Linked DNA regions of Homo sapiens: regions 1 and 3 are each linked to region 2. The links are contacts of gene promoters, found by promoter capture Hi-C in blood cells and fetal thymus (Javierre and others, 2016). All regions are on one chromosome and are shown on one strand. The core of a region is centred on a gene start or on the middle of the fragment in contact, and the rest is flanking DNA. Distances in the headings are between cores, read along the strand shown. Region 1 overlaps PPFIA4 (PPFI scaffold protein A4). Region 2 holds the start of ADORA1 (adenosine A1 receptor). Region 3 overlaps PPFIA4 (PPFI scaffold protein A4).

Region 1 (3,117 bases), core at 262-2,761, 95 kb before region 2:
GCATACTTGCACAAGCTCTCACAGCTCCCATGTGCTCCTGGGAGCATGTATGATGTTATGAATCCCAGATGCTTATGCATGTATGACCACACACATTTACTGTCATGGCTGTGTACCCACACATGTGTTCTCATGACCACAATTATATGCAGTCAAGATCCCTGATGTACTTATGACCACACACATCTACACACTGTCATGAGTCTATATACCTACTTGCTCTCATGCCTGTGCTCTCAGGATGCCATTCTTATGACCATACCTTTATACACAGACATACATACAACATATACTCTCTCTCTCTCTCGGTCCCCTTTTCCCCTCTCTCTCCCTATTGCCCAGGCTGGAGTGCAGTGGCATGATCATGGCTCACTGCAGCCTCAACCTCCTGGGTTCAAGTGCTCCTCCCACCTCAGTCTCCCGAGTAGCTGGGAATACAGGTGCATGCCACCATGCCCAGCTAGTTTTCATATTTTTAGTAGAGATGGGGTTTTGCCATGTTGCCCAGGCTGGTTTCTAAGTCCTGAGCTTAAGCAATCTCCCTGCCTTGGCCTTCCAAAGTGCTACTGCACCGAGGGCTTATGCCCGAGGCATGAACTACCACTGCACTGGCTTCTCTTCCTTTTTCATGGCCACACATATATACCATGCGTTCTCATGATCACACACACACTCTGTTGCATGACGACACATGACACCCCCCCATTCTCTTTTCGTACTGCCCGCCACTTCTGTGACCACATACTAATGCACATTTTTTATGATGCCTACATTCCTCCCTGCAGTTCTGTACTCTGGACATTTTACACCTGGTGCCTATTAGCACTCCGGACCCGTCCTCTTCTCTCCTCTGCGATGGCTCCCTAATCTGATGGGTTGATCTACGAATGCAGTGACTTTGAGCATTTTTTTACCACCAGAGGACCCTGTTTAATATTTGTCCCACATGGATCCCTAGTTTTGAAATATTTTTATTCTCCAAATTTGCTATGCTTATTACTTTGTTTCTTCTTCTGCAAACATTATTTGAGGACATTTGTGTTGATTAATGGCTCTGATTAGCAGAAGATGTCTAGGGTTTTCTCTGGGAATGTACTTAATGATGTAAGTTCAGCAAAAGCTGTGTCTGTATTCGGTGGTGCAGACTCATATTTTGACTTAGTAACTATATGATCTCTATTAGACAGTTAGAGTGTGGAAAATGGTTGGCTCCTGGTGTTACTTGTGTAGCATTCCCAGGGTTGTCACTGTTGCACTGATGTACAGCCTTTCTGAGAGAACGTGTGTGTGTGTGTGTGTGTGTGTGTGTGTTTTAGCAGGGGGCTTCTGTAGACAATATTTAAACTAGGGATTTTCTAACCTCTTCATGGACTTGGAATCCTTTTATACAATTGAAACCTTAATCAGATGTCCCATAAAACGGACAGATTAGGAGTTGATGGGATTAAAGTAAGAAAAGGGAATTTAGAGCCTTTTGAGTTTGTCACACCTCTTCACCCTCCTTTTGGCCTTGGACTGCCCCTAAAGGTACTTTGTCGTAAAGCCTAGTTTGCAAACACCAGTCTTAAGTTAAAAAGGTAGGTGTGATGTCTATAATTTTGGGTATTTCAGAAGAGGAACTATTTGCGGATGGGGGCCCAGAGGCTTGTAGTTCTCCCTTCCCCGCTTTTTTGTTGTTGTTGTTGTTTTTGAAATAGGGTCTTGCTCTGTTACCCAGGCTGGAGTAAGTAGTGTGATCTTGGCTTACTGCAGCCTCCATCTCCTAGGCTTAAGTGATCCTCCCACTTCAGCCTCCTGAGTAACTGGGACTGTAGTCTGTAGACGCATGCCGCTGTGCCCAGCTAACATTTTTTTTTTTTTTTTTTTTTTAAGAGAGGATGTCTCACCATGTTGCTTAGGCTGGTCTTGAACTCTTGGGCTCAAGCAGTCTTTCACCTCATCCTCCCAAAGTGCTGGGATTAGAGGCATGAGCTACCATGCCCGGCCTTCCCCATTAGTTTTGACATTAGTCCTACTAGGGTGGCAATGGCAAGGGTGACCATATGGCTAGGTGAAACCTGTGTTCTGGTGTGATTGTTAACAGTGGTTTACTGTCTAAACCATGACCCTCTAAACCAAGAGGATCATGGTTTAGACAGTAAGTTCTGTGCTCACTCAAGTGATAGGCCATGTCTTGGGAAGAGGTGGCCCATGTCTAACTCCTGGGGAGCAGCTGGAGAGCTGGGCTTCACAGACTCAGGCCCAGGGGAGCCTGTCTGAACAGATGCTTCCTTCCGTGTCCCCTGAATGAGCCTGGCATTAGGAGGCTGAGTGTATTCGGCAGCTGGTACTAACCTGTGCTTGGGCGGCATTTTATACTTCTCAGAACTGTTTCATGTCTGTTACCTCTTTGAGCCTCATGACAACCTGTGAGAGCACTGGAGCGTATTGTGTGTTATAATGTTCATTTTCCAGATTTGGGAACCTGATCACAGAGGGGTAAAGTCTCACTGCTAGTCGTGTTGGGGGCCCAGAGAACTGGATGCTTTTGAAGGGATCTGTGGCTAGCAGTGGAAACTCTTAAGTGGGGCTTTTCCAAGAGTTTTTTCTCTGGGAATGGCTTCCTGTAGCCAGAATAGATTTGTAATTTTCTTATTGTAGTTCAGTGGGCCCAGCCTTGAGGCGCTTTGGGAGCCTAGGGTGCTGAGAGTTCATGAACACTTACCGAGTTTTGCTGGGTGCTGATCTCAGCACTTTGTGTAGGCTGACTCTAGACATCCTGTGTCCCAGCTGTCTGAGGTGGGTACTGTTATCATTCCCATTCACAGAGGTTGGGGAATGGAAGCTCAGAGAGATTCAGGATCTTCCCAGGGTCACCTGCATCATCAGCTGCTCTGGAGTCTGCCTTTCAAGACAGGAGCAGCCCCCATCTTGCTCTCAAGAAGGTTTAATTTTCAGACCAGGTGTGGTGGCTCACACCTATAATACTAGCACTTTGGGAGGCCGAGGTGGGCAGACAGCTGAGGTCAGGAGTTCAAGACCACCCTGGCCAAAATGCTGAAATGCCATCTCTACTAAAAATAAAAAAAATAAAAATAGCCAGATGTGGTGGCGTGCACCTGTAATCCCAGCTACTCG
Region 2 (2,972 bases), core at 443-2,942:
CCACTACATGTCAGCAACCTGTGGTAAGATGAATCGGAGGTGGGAGTGTATGTGTATGGGAGGTGGTGGTGGGTGCTCAGTTGCCCTCCAGAGCTGAAGATGCTGTCAATAGTTAGACAGGGTGACCCCACTCACCCATCCCCGTCCCCAAGCTGGGCCCATCTGGGTCTTCACAGTCTCTTCTGACATCTAGTTGAGTGACCATTGGGAAGCTGAGTGTAAACTGAGAGAGAAAGCCTTGAGCCAAAAATGGCTTAAGTCAAGCAAAGGGTGGAGAGGCAGGGGATGGTCGCAAAGGCCTGCATGTCTGGGTGGCAGGGGGAGTAGGCAGGACGTCAGGTGCTGTTGGGCGTGTTGACAAAGTCAGCAGGGGAAGTGCAAGGGGACGAGGAGGAAGGAGAGTTTACACTTCCTAATTTCTCCAACTAGCTTCTAGGGAAGGAATGTAATTTTGCTGTCTGAGGCACTGATTCCTTGCTCCCCCTAAAGGCAGAAATGGAAGTTATTTTTCCCCACAGAGGGCTTCCCCCTCCTCCTCAGAAGACTCAACTGCCCTTCCTCCCTGCCTCCCAGCTACCCAGGTTCCGGGTCCCACATCATTCCTCACTGTGATTCAGTGCAGCCCCCAATGGGAGCAACGTGCCCACCCTCCTCTGGGCAGAACCCTTTTCCTTGCATTCTGAGATCCAGTGAGGGGGGCAGTACCCCCAGAGGCCAGGTTGGGTTGTGGCTAGCTAACATTGGGGTCCCCAGCCTGACTCTCTTTGCCTTCCTAGAACCCTTGCCCAATACCCACAAACAAGGATTTCTCAGGTTGGGATCTCTGCGAGGCATCCATCCATGTCCAGGGTCTGGTCATTAGTTAATATCAGTGGACTGCCTAAACCGAAACTGGCAGAAGGTGGCCAGGGGAGGGGTCTGGACCCAGTGGAGAGAGTCAGGAGCCTGGGATTCTTATTTTGGTCCTGTTAGGATTTGCCCTGTGACCCTCCGGAAGTCCCTTGCTTCCCTGAGCCTGCTTCTTTATCTGTAACATGAGGGGATTGGACTGGATGCCTTATGGCTTAGCGCTGTGCTATGAAGAGGAAGAAGGAGGAAGGAAAAGGAGCGCAGAGCGGGTTACACTGCCAGGAGATCCTGGGAAGCTAGGTCACTTCCCTGAGCCTCAGCATCCTTATCTGCAAAATAGAAATTGCTAATAGACTAAAAGGCAATTCTGAAAGATGGATGAGAAAGGAATATAATGACTCAGGGTAGAGCCTGCAAAACAATATGGGATGAGAAGATGCAGGGACTGGTTTCATGGAGAGAGCAGGGTTTTAGGATTGGGGGAGGGTGCCAGGGCTACCGACTGCTTTGGGAGATCCCAGAGGGGGCATTCTGAAGTCCTGCAGAAGAGATGCTGTGCCGTGAGGGGTGAGGGGTCGCTGGAGGCCAGACCAGGGCTCCCAGGAGTCCTGCATTGAGAAGGGAGAGAGTGGACACAGGAAGGATGCGCCTCTGTCCAGTCCTGAGGCTGGGCGCACACACCAGGCCCTTCGAAAAGCTCACATTTTTTCCAGCTTTTCTCACCCAGTATCACTTCCTTTGTTAAGAGGAGGGGGTGGGGGAGGAGACGGAGGATGAGGAGGGAGGGGCTGGCGGGTGCCGCCGCCGCCCCCGCCCCCTCCCGGTGTGCGGAGCCCGATTGTCACTCAGCTCCTGCGCCGGGGGCGACAGAGCCGCAGGCGCCCGAGTCGAGTCCCAGCCAGCTACCATCCCTCTGGAGCTTACCGGCCGGCCTTGGCTTCCCCAGGAATCCCTGGAGCTAGCGGCTGCTGAAGGCGTCGAGGTGTGGGGGCACTTGGACAGAACAGTCAGGCAGCCGGGAGCTCTGCCAGCTTTGGTGACCTTGGGTAAGTCTGAGTCTCGGTTCACCCCTGGGGCTCCCCAATGGGGGTGCAGGAGAGGGTTGAAAGAAGAGACCGGAATGCCCCCTTGGGGCAGGCCATGGGCAAGGTTCCCCGACAGAGCTGGAACGGGACCAGAGGACTGCTAAGATCCAGGCACCAGACGGGTCTCAAGTGGGTGGGCGCAGGGCAGGTGCGGGCACGCTGGGGAATAGGGAGAAACGCCCCAGCCTTGTCCTGGGCTCCGTCCCCAGACCCACGTCTGCCACCCCAGTCCCAGGTGCGAAACAGGGGCGCTACCTCTTTAAAAGCGTCCGGGGCTGAGTCTCTGCCGTACCATGTGATTGCTTGAAAGGCCGGGCTGGGAGCGCTGCGGCGGGAGCCGGAGGACTATGAGCTGCCGCGCGTTGTCCAGAGCCCAGCCCAGCCCTACCGCGCGCGGCCCGGAGCTCTGTTCCCTGGAACTTTGGGCACTGCCTCTGGGACCCCTGCCGGCCAGCAGGCAGGATGGTGAGCTCCCTGCATCCTGTTCTGTGCACAGGGGTGGGCAGAGCCAGTCATGGGAGACCCCTCTGTGCGTGTGTCTGTGTGTGCGCGCGCGCTGGGAGCTGCCTCACACCTGATAAAAAAGCCAGTGGAGGAGTGAGCGCTGCTATTTTAAGTTGCTGAATGGAACCTCTGGGAATGATAAAGGGAAGGGACAAAGATTAGGCAGAGAAGGGTCCGGGTGCCCCTCCAGCCTGGGTAGGAGCTGCATGTGACAAGTGGGACACATCACAGGGTACCTGGAGTTCCAGGGCAGCCTGAGCTCCCTGCCCCTCCCAGACGGGTCTCCCCATCCCAGGCTTCCCTGACCACACAGGTGCTTGCCTCGTGCCCCTTGGTGCCCGTCTGCTGATGTGCCCAGCCTGTGCCCGCCATGCCGCCCTCCATCTCAGCTTTCCAGGCCGCCTACATCGGCATCGAGGTGCTCATCGCCCTGGTCTCTGTGCCCGGGAACGTGCTGGTGATCTGGGCGGTGAAGGTGAACCAGGCGCTGCGGGATGCCACCTTCTGCTTCATCGTGTCGCTGGCGGTGGCTGA
Region 3 (2,959 bases), core at 351-2,850, 74 kb before region 2:
TCATGGCGGAGACGAGGGAGGGATGACAGGTTAACTGGCCCTTGGGATGGCACCTGGAGTTTTCCGAGAAGCAGCTGTGAGTTCATGCTGTCTGAGTCTGCCTAGGGAGATTAGGGGAGAATGAGGAAAGATATGGGGCAGAAAAATGCCGAGTTTGATCTTTTGGGAAAGTGCAATTATTCGTCATGCTCTGTCCTGAATCCAGGTCCTCTAAATATCATTTAGAGCACTGGGGTATTAGAAGATATAGATGGAGAAAGAGGGAACTCCTAGTCTCAGGGGAAGATTCACTCTGCCCTTAAGAAATCCTCAGTCCGATGGGGGAGTCACAGTCTGAAGGTGCCTCTTTTTCTTTCTCCCCCGACTTCTTTGCTCTTTCTGTTTATAAGAATATAGCAGCTATCCAGGAGCTGAGAGGCTGCAGGAGCCTGAAGGGGAGCTAGGGGGCTTGGGTCATAGAGGATGGGTGTTAGAGTACCTTTCTGTCCCTGGCTCCCTTCCTTCCTTCTCTACTCTTCTGTTCTCCACCCTCCCCTCTTCTGGGCCTTTGTCCGCTGGATAGGTTTGTAGGATGATTTCAGAGAAGCTGCCGCCTCTCAGGGTTGACCAGACTGTCCTGTGATGATCTGAAACTCTGCAGACTGTCTATTCAGGCCTGCTTGGCCTTTCTGTTCTCTGGGTGTAGTCAGCCTTTGAGTTTGTATGGATGGAAACTGATAGCATTTATGTAGTGCTTGCTTTGTGCCAGGCACAGTGCTAAGGGCTTTACATGTATTTTCCTCATTTGATCCTCACAGCTATCTATGAGGTAAGTACTTTACCATCCCTATTTTACAGATGAAGAAACTGAGGCACAGAGAGGTTAAAAAATGTTCCTATGGTTGCACAACTAGTGTTTGGTGGAGATGAGATTCAAACCAAAGCCGTCTCTCTCTGGATTCTCTTCTTAACAGTTAGAGCAGTATTTCTTAGACTGTAATGTGCAAACAAATCACCCAGGGGTCAGCCGGGCACGGTGGCTCACGCTTGTAATCCCAGCACTTTGGGAGGCTGAGGTGGGTGGATTGCTTGAGCTCAGAAGTTCACTACCAGCCTGGGCAACATGGTGAAACCCCGTCTCTACTAAAATACAAAAAATCAGCCGGGCGTGGTGGCGTGCGCTTGTAATCCTAGCTACTCGGGAGTCTGAGGCAGGAGAATTGCTTGAACCTGGGAGGCGGAGGTTGCAGTGAGCCGAGATCACGCCACTGCCCTCCAGCCTGGGTGACAGAGGGAGACTCCATCTCAAAAAACAAACAAACCAAAAACCAAAAACCAAAAAACCACCCAGGGGTCTTGTTAAAATGCAGATGTTGAATCAGTAGGTCTGGTGGTGCGGCCTGAGATTCTGCATTTCCAGCAAGCTCCCAGGAGATGCCAGTGCTGGTGGGTAGAGGTAGGGAGGGTCCTGCTCTGCAGTTATCTGGGTGTCTTATTACGACTCCTTTACCCTCCTCCTTTGCTAAGGACTGGGAGACTTCTCCACTGCCTGGGATGCTGGCCCCGGCAGCTGGCCCTGCCTTTGACAGTGACCCTGAGATCTCCGACGTGGATGAGGATGAGCCAGGGGGTCTGGTGGGCTCTGCGGATGTTGTCTCCCCCAGCGGCCACTCAGATGCCCAGACCCTGGCCATGATGCTGCAGGAGCAGCTGGATGCCATCAATGAGGAAATCAGGTTAGGGCAGGGCTGGAGGGCTTGGGAAGTGCATTGAAGGGCAGGGGGGCCCTTTGTGTTGGAAAAACCCTATATGGGTTTGCCCAACTCTTATAGCTGCAACTTAGAGTACCACAGTTCAGGGACCCTCTGTGGGTCATCAGGCCCGCTGCCAGTGCCGGAGTGAGAGGAGCAGGGCCTCAGTGGACTTCTCAGGCTTCACCTCCCCTCTCAGGGCTTGCGATGTGGCTGGGCTCAGGAGGATGCATGCTGTGTTCCTGCAGCCCTGCAGCTGATCTTAACCACTAAGAGTGTAGCTCCTGCTTACTGAGGCTAGCTCAGGGTGAGAGCTTTGTAAATGTCACTGTCCATCTTACCACAGTGCCTGAGGTAGGCAGCATGATCCCTGTTTTACAGACAAGGGAACAGAAACTCAGAGAGGTTAAGTGACTTGCCCAAAGCCACACAGAAGTGACAGAGCCAGGATTCAAACTCAAGTCTGAACTTGGCCCACTGCACCATGCCTCCTGTCCCTAATAAGGCATCAAACAGAAACAGTGACAGGGAACGTTGTGAAAACCTTCACTTTGTCCTGCCTTTTTAATGAGTTTATTAATGTTAATGACAAACAGCAGGGCAATATCTGAGCTGGAGTGTATCAGAGCTTTATAAGCTGTACAGGACATCCAGTTCAATGGTTCAATGTATTGCACAGACCAGTTACAAAGAAGACACACACACACACACACACACACACACACATACACACACAGAGAGAGAGAGAGAAAGGTACAAACGTAGGACCACCAGCTTTTTATTTTGCAAAGTAAAACATTAATGATAATGACTATCTATTATCGCAATCATTTTGCAAAAGAAAGGACATTTTAACATTCCTGAAGTAAGAAAGACATACTCAGAATAAAGGCGAGTCCTTCTTTGTGAAAGGGAGTGGGCATCTTTACTGGAGCATGTGTGTGTGAGAGAGTGTGTGTGTGTGCGTGTGCATGCACTCCTTGCTGAGTGCCTCCCAGGCACACACGTGTACCATTTTTATTATTTCTCTCATTTTTCTGTGGAACAGGGAAAACCCCACCAGGGGTCAGCATCATTTAAAAGTCCTACACTTGGAAACTGCTGACTTATACCACTTCAGACATAGCATATGTTGGGAAACTGAGGCACAGACAGCAAAATACCTGACTCAAGGCCACCCTATAGTTAGGGGTATGTCAAGAATTCTGATTTTCAGGATGGTTTATGTT

The links. Contacts are between HindIII fragments. The CHiCAGO score rates a contact against its expected background, and 5 or more counts as called.
Region 1: a fragment that was not itself captured here is called in contact with the fragment with the promoter of ADORA1 in region 2 in 2 of 17 cell types (M1 macrophages and M0 macrophages); the score reaches 6.0 in M1 macrophages.
Region 3: a fragment that was not itself captured here is called in contact with the fragment with the promoter of ADORA1 in region 2 in 1 of 17 cell types (M1 macrophages); the score reaches 6.6 in M1 macrophages.

What each region holds. Positions count from the first base shown.
Region 1 is chr1:203,030,761-203,033,877 of GRCh38, forward strand. The region is part of intron 1 of PPFIA4 (PPFI scaffold protein A4); the gene reads left to right. Among named protein-coding and RNA genes, the nearest start is that of PPFIA4, 5.8 kb to the left of the region's middle. The HindIII fragment of the contact is 4,311 bases long and covers 1-3,117 here.
Region 2 is chr1:203,126,034-203,129,005 of GRCh38, forward strand. ADORA1 (adenosine A1 receptor) reads left to right here and starts at 1,693. Exons shown (of 4, transcript NM_000674.3): 1 at 1,693-1,895; 2 at 2,245-2,399; 3 at 2,752-2,972. The coding sequence starts at 2,809. RefSeq lists an enhancer at 1,417-2,397. The HindIII fragment of the contact is 5,732 bases long and covers 1-2,972 here.
Region 3 is chr1:203,052,247-203,055,205 of GRCh38, forward strand. PPFIA4 (PPFI scaffold protein A4) reads left to right here. Exons shown (of 30, transcript NM_001304331.2): 15 at 1,507-1,715. Among named protein-coding and RNA genes, the nearest start is that of PPFIA4, 27 kb to the left of the region's middle. RefSeq lists an enhancer at 2,303-2,959. The HindIII fragment of the contact is 5,243 bases long and covers 1-2,959 here.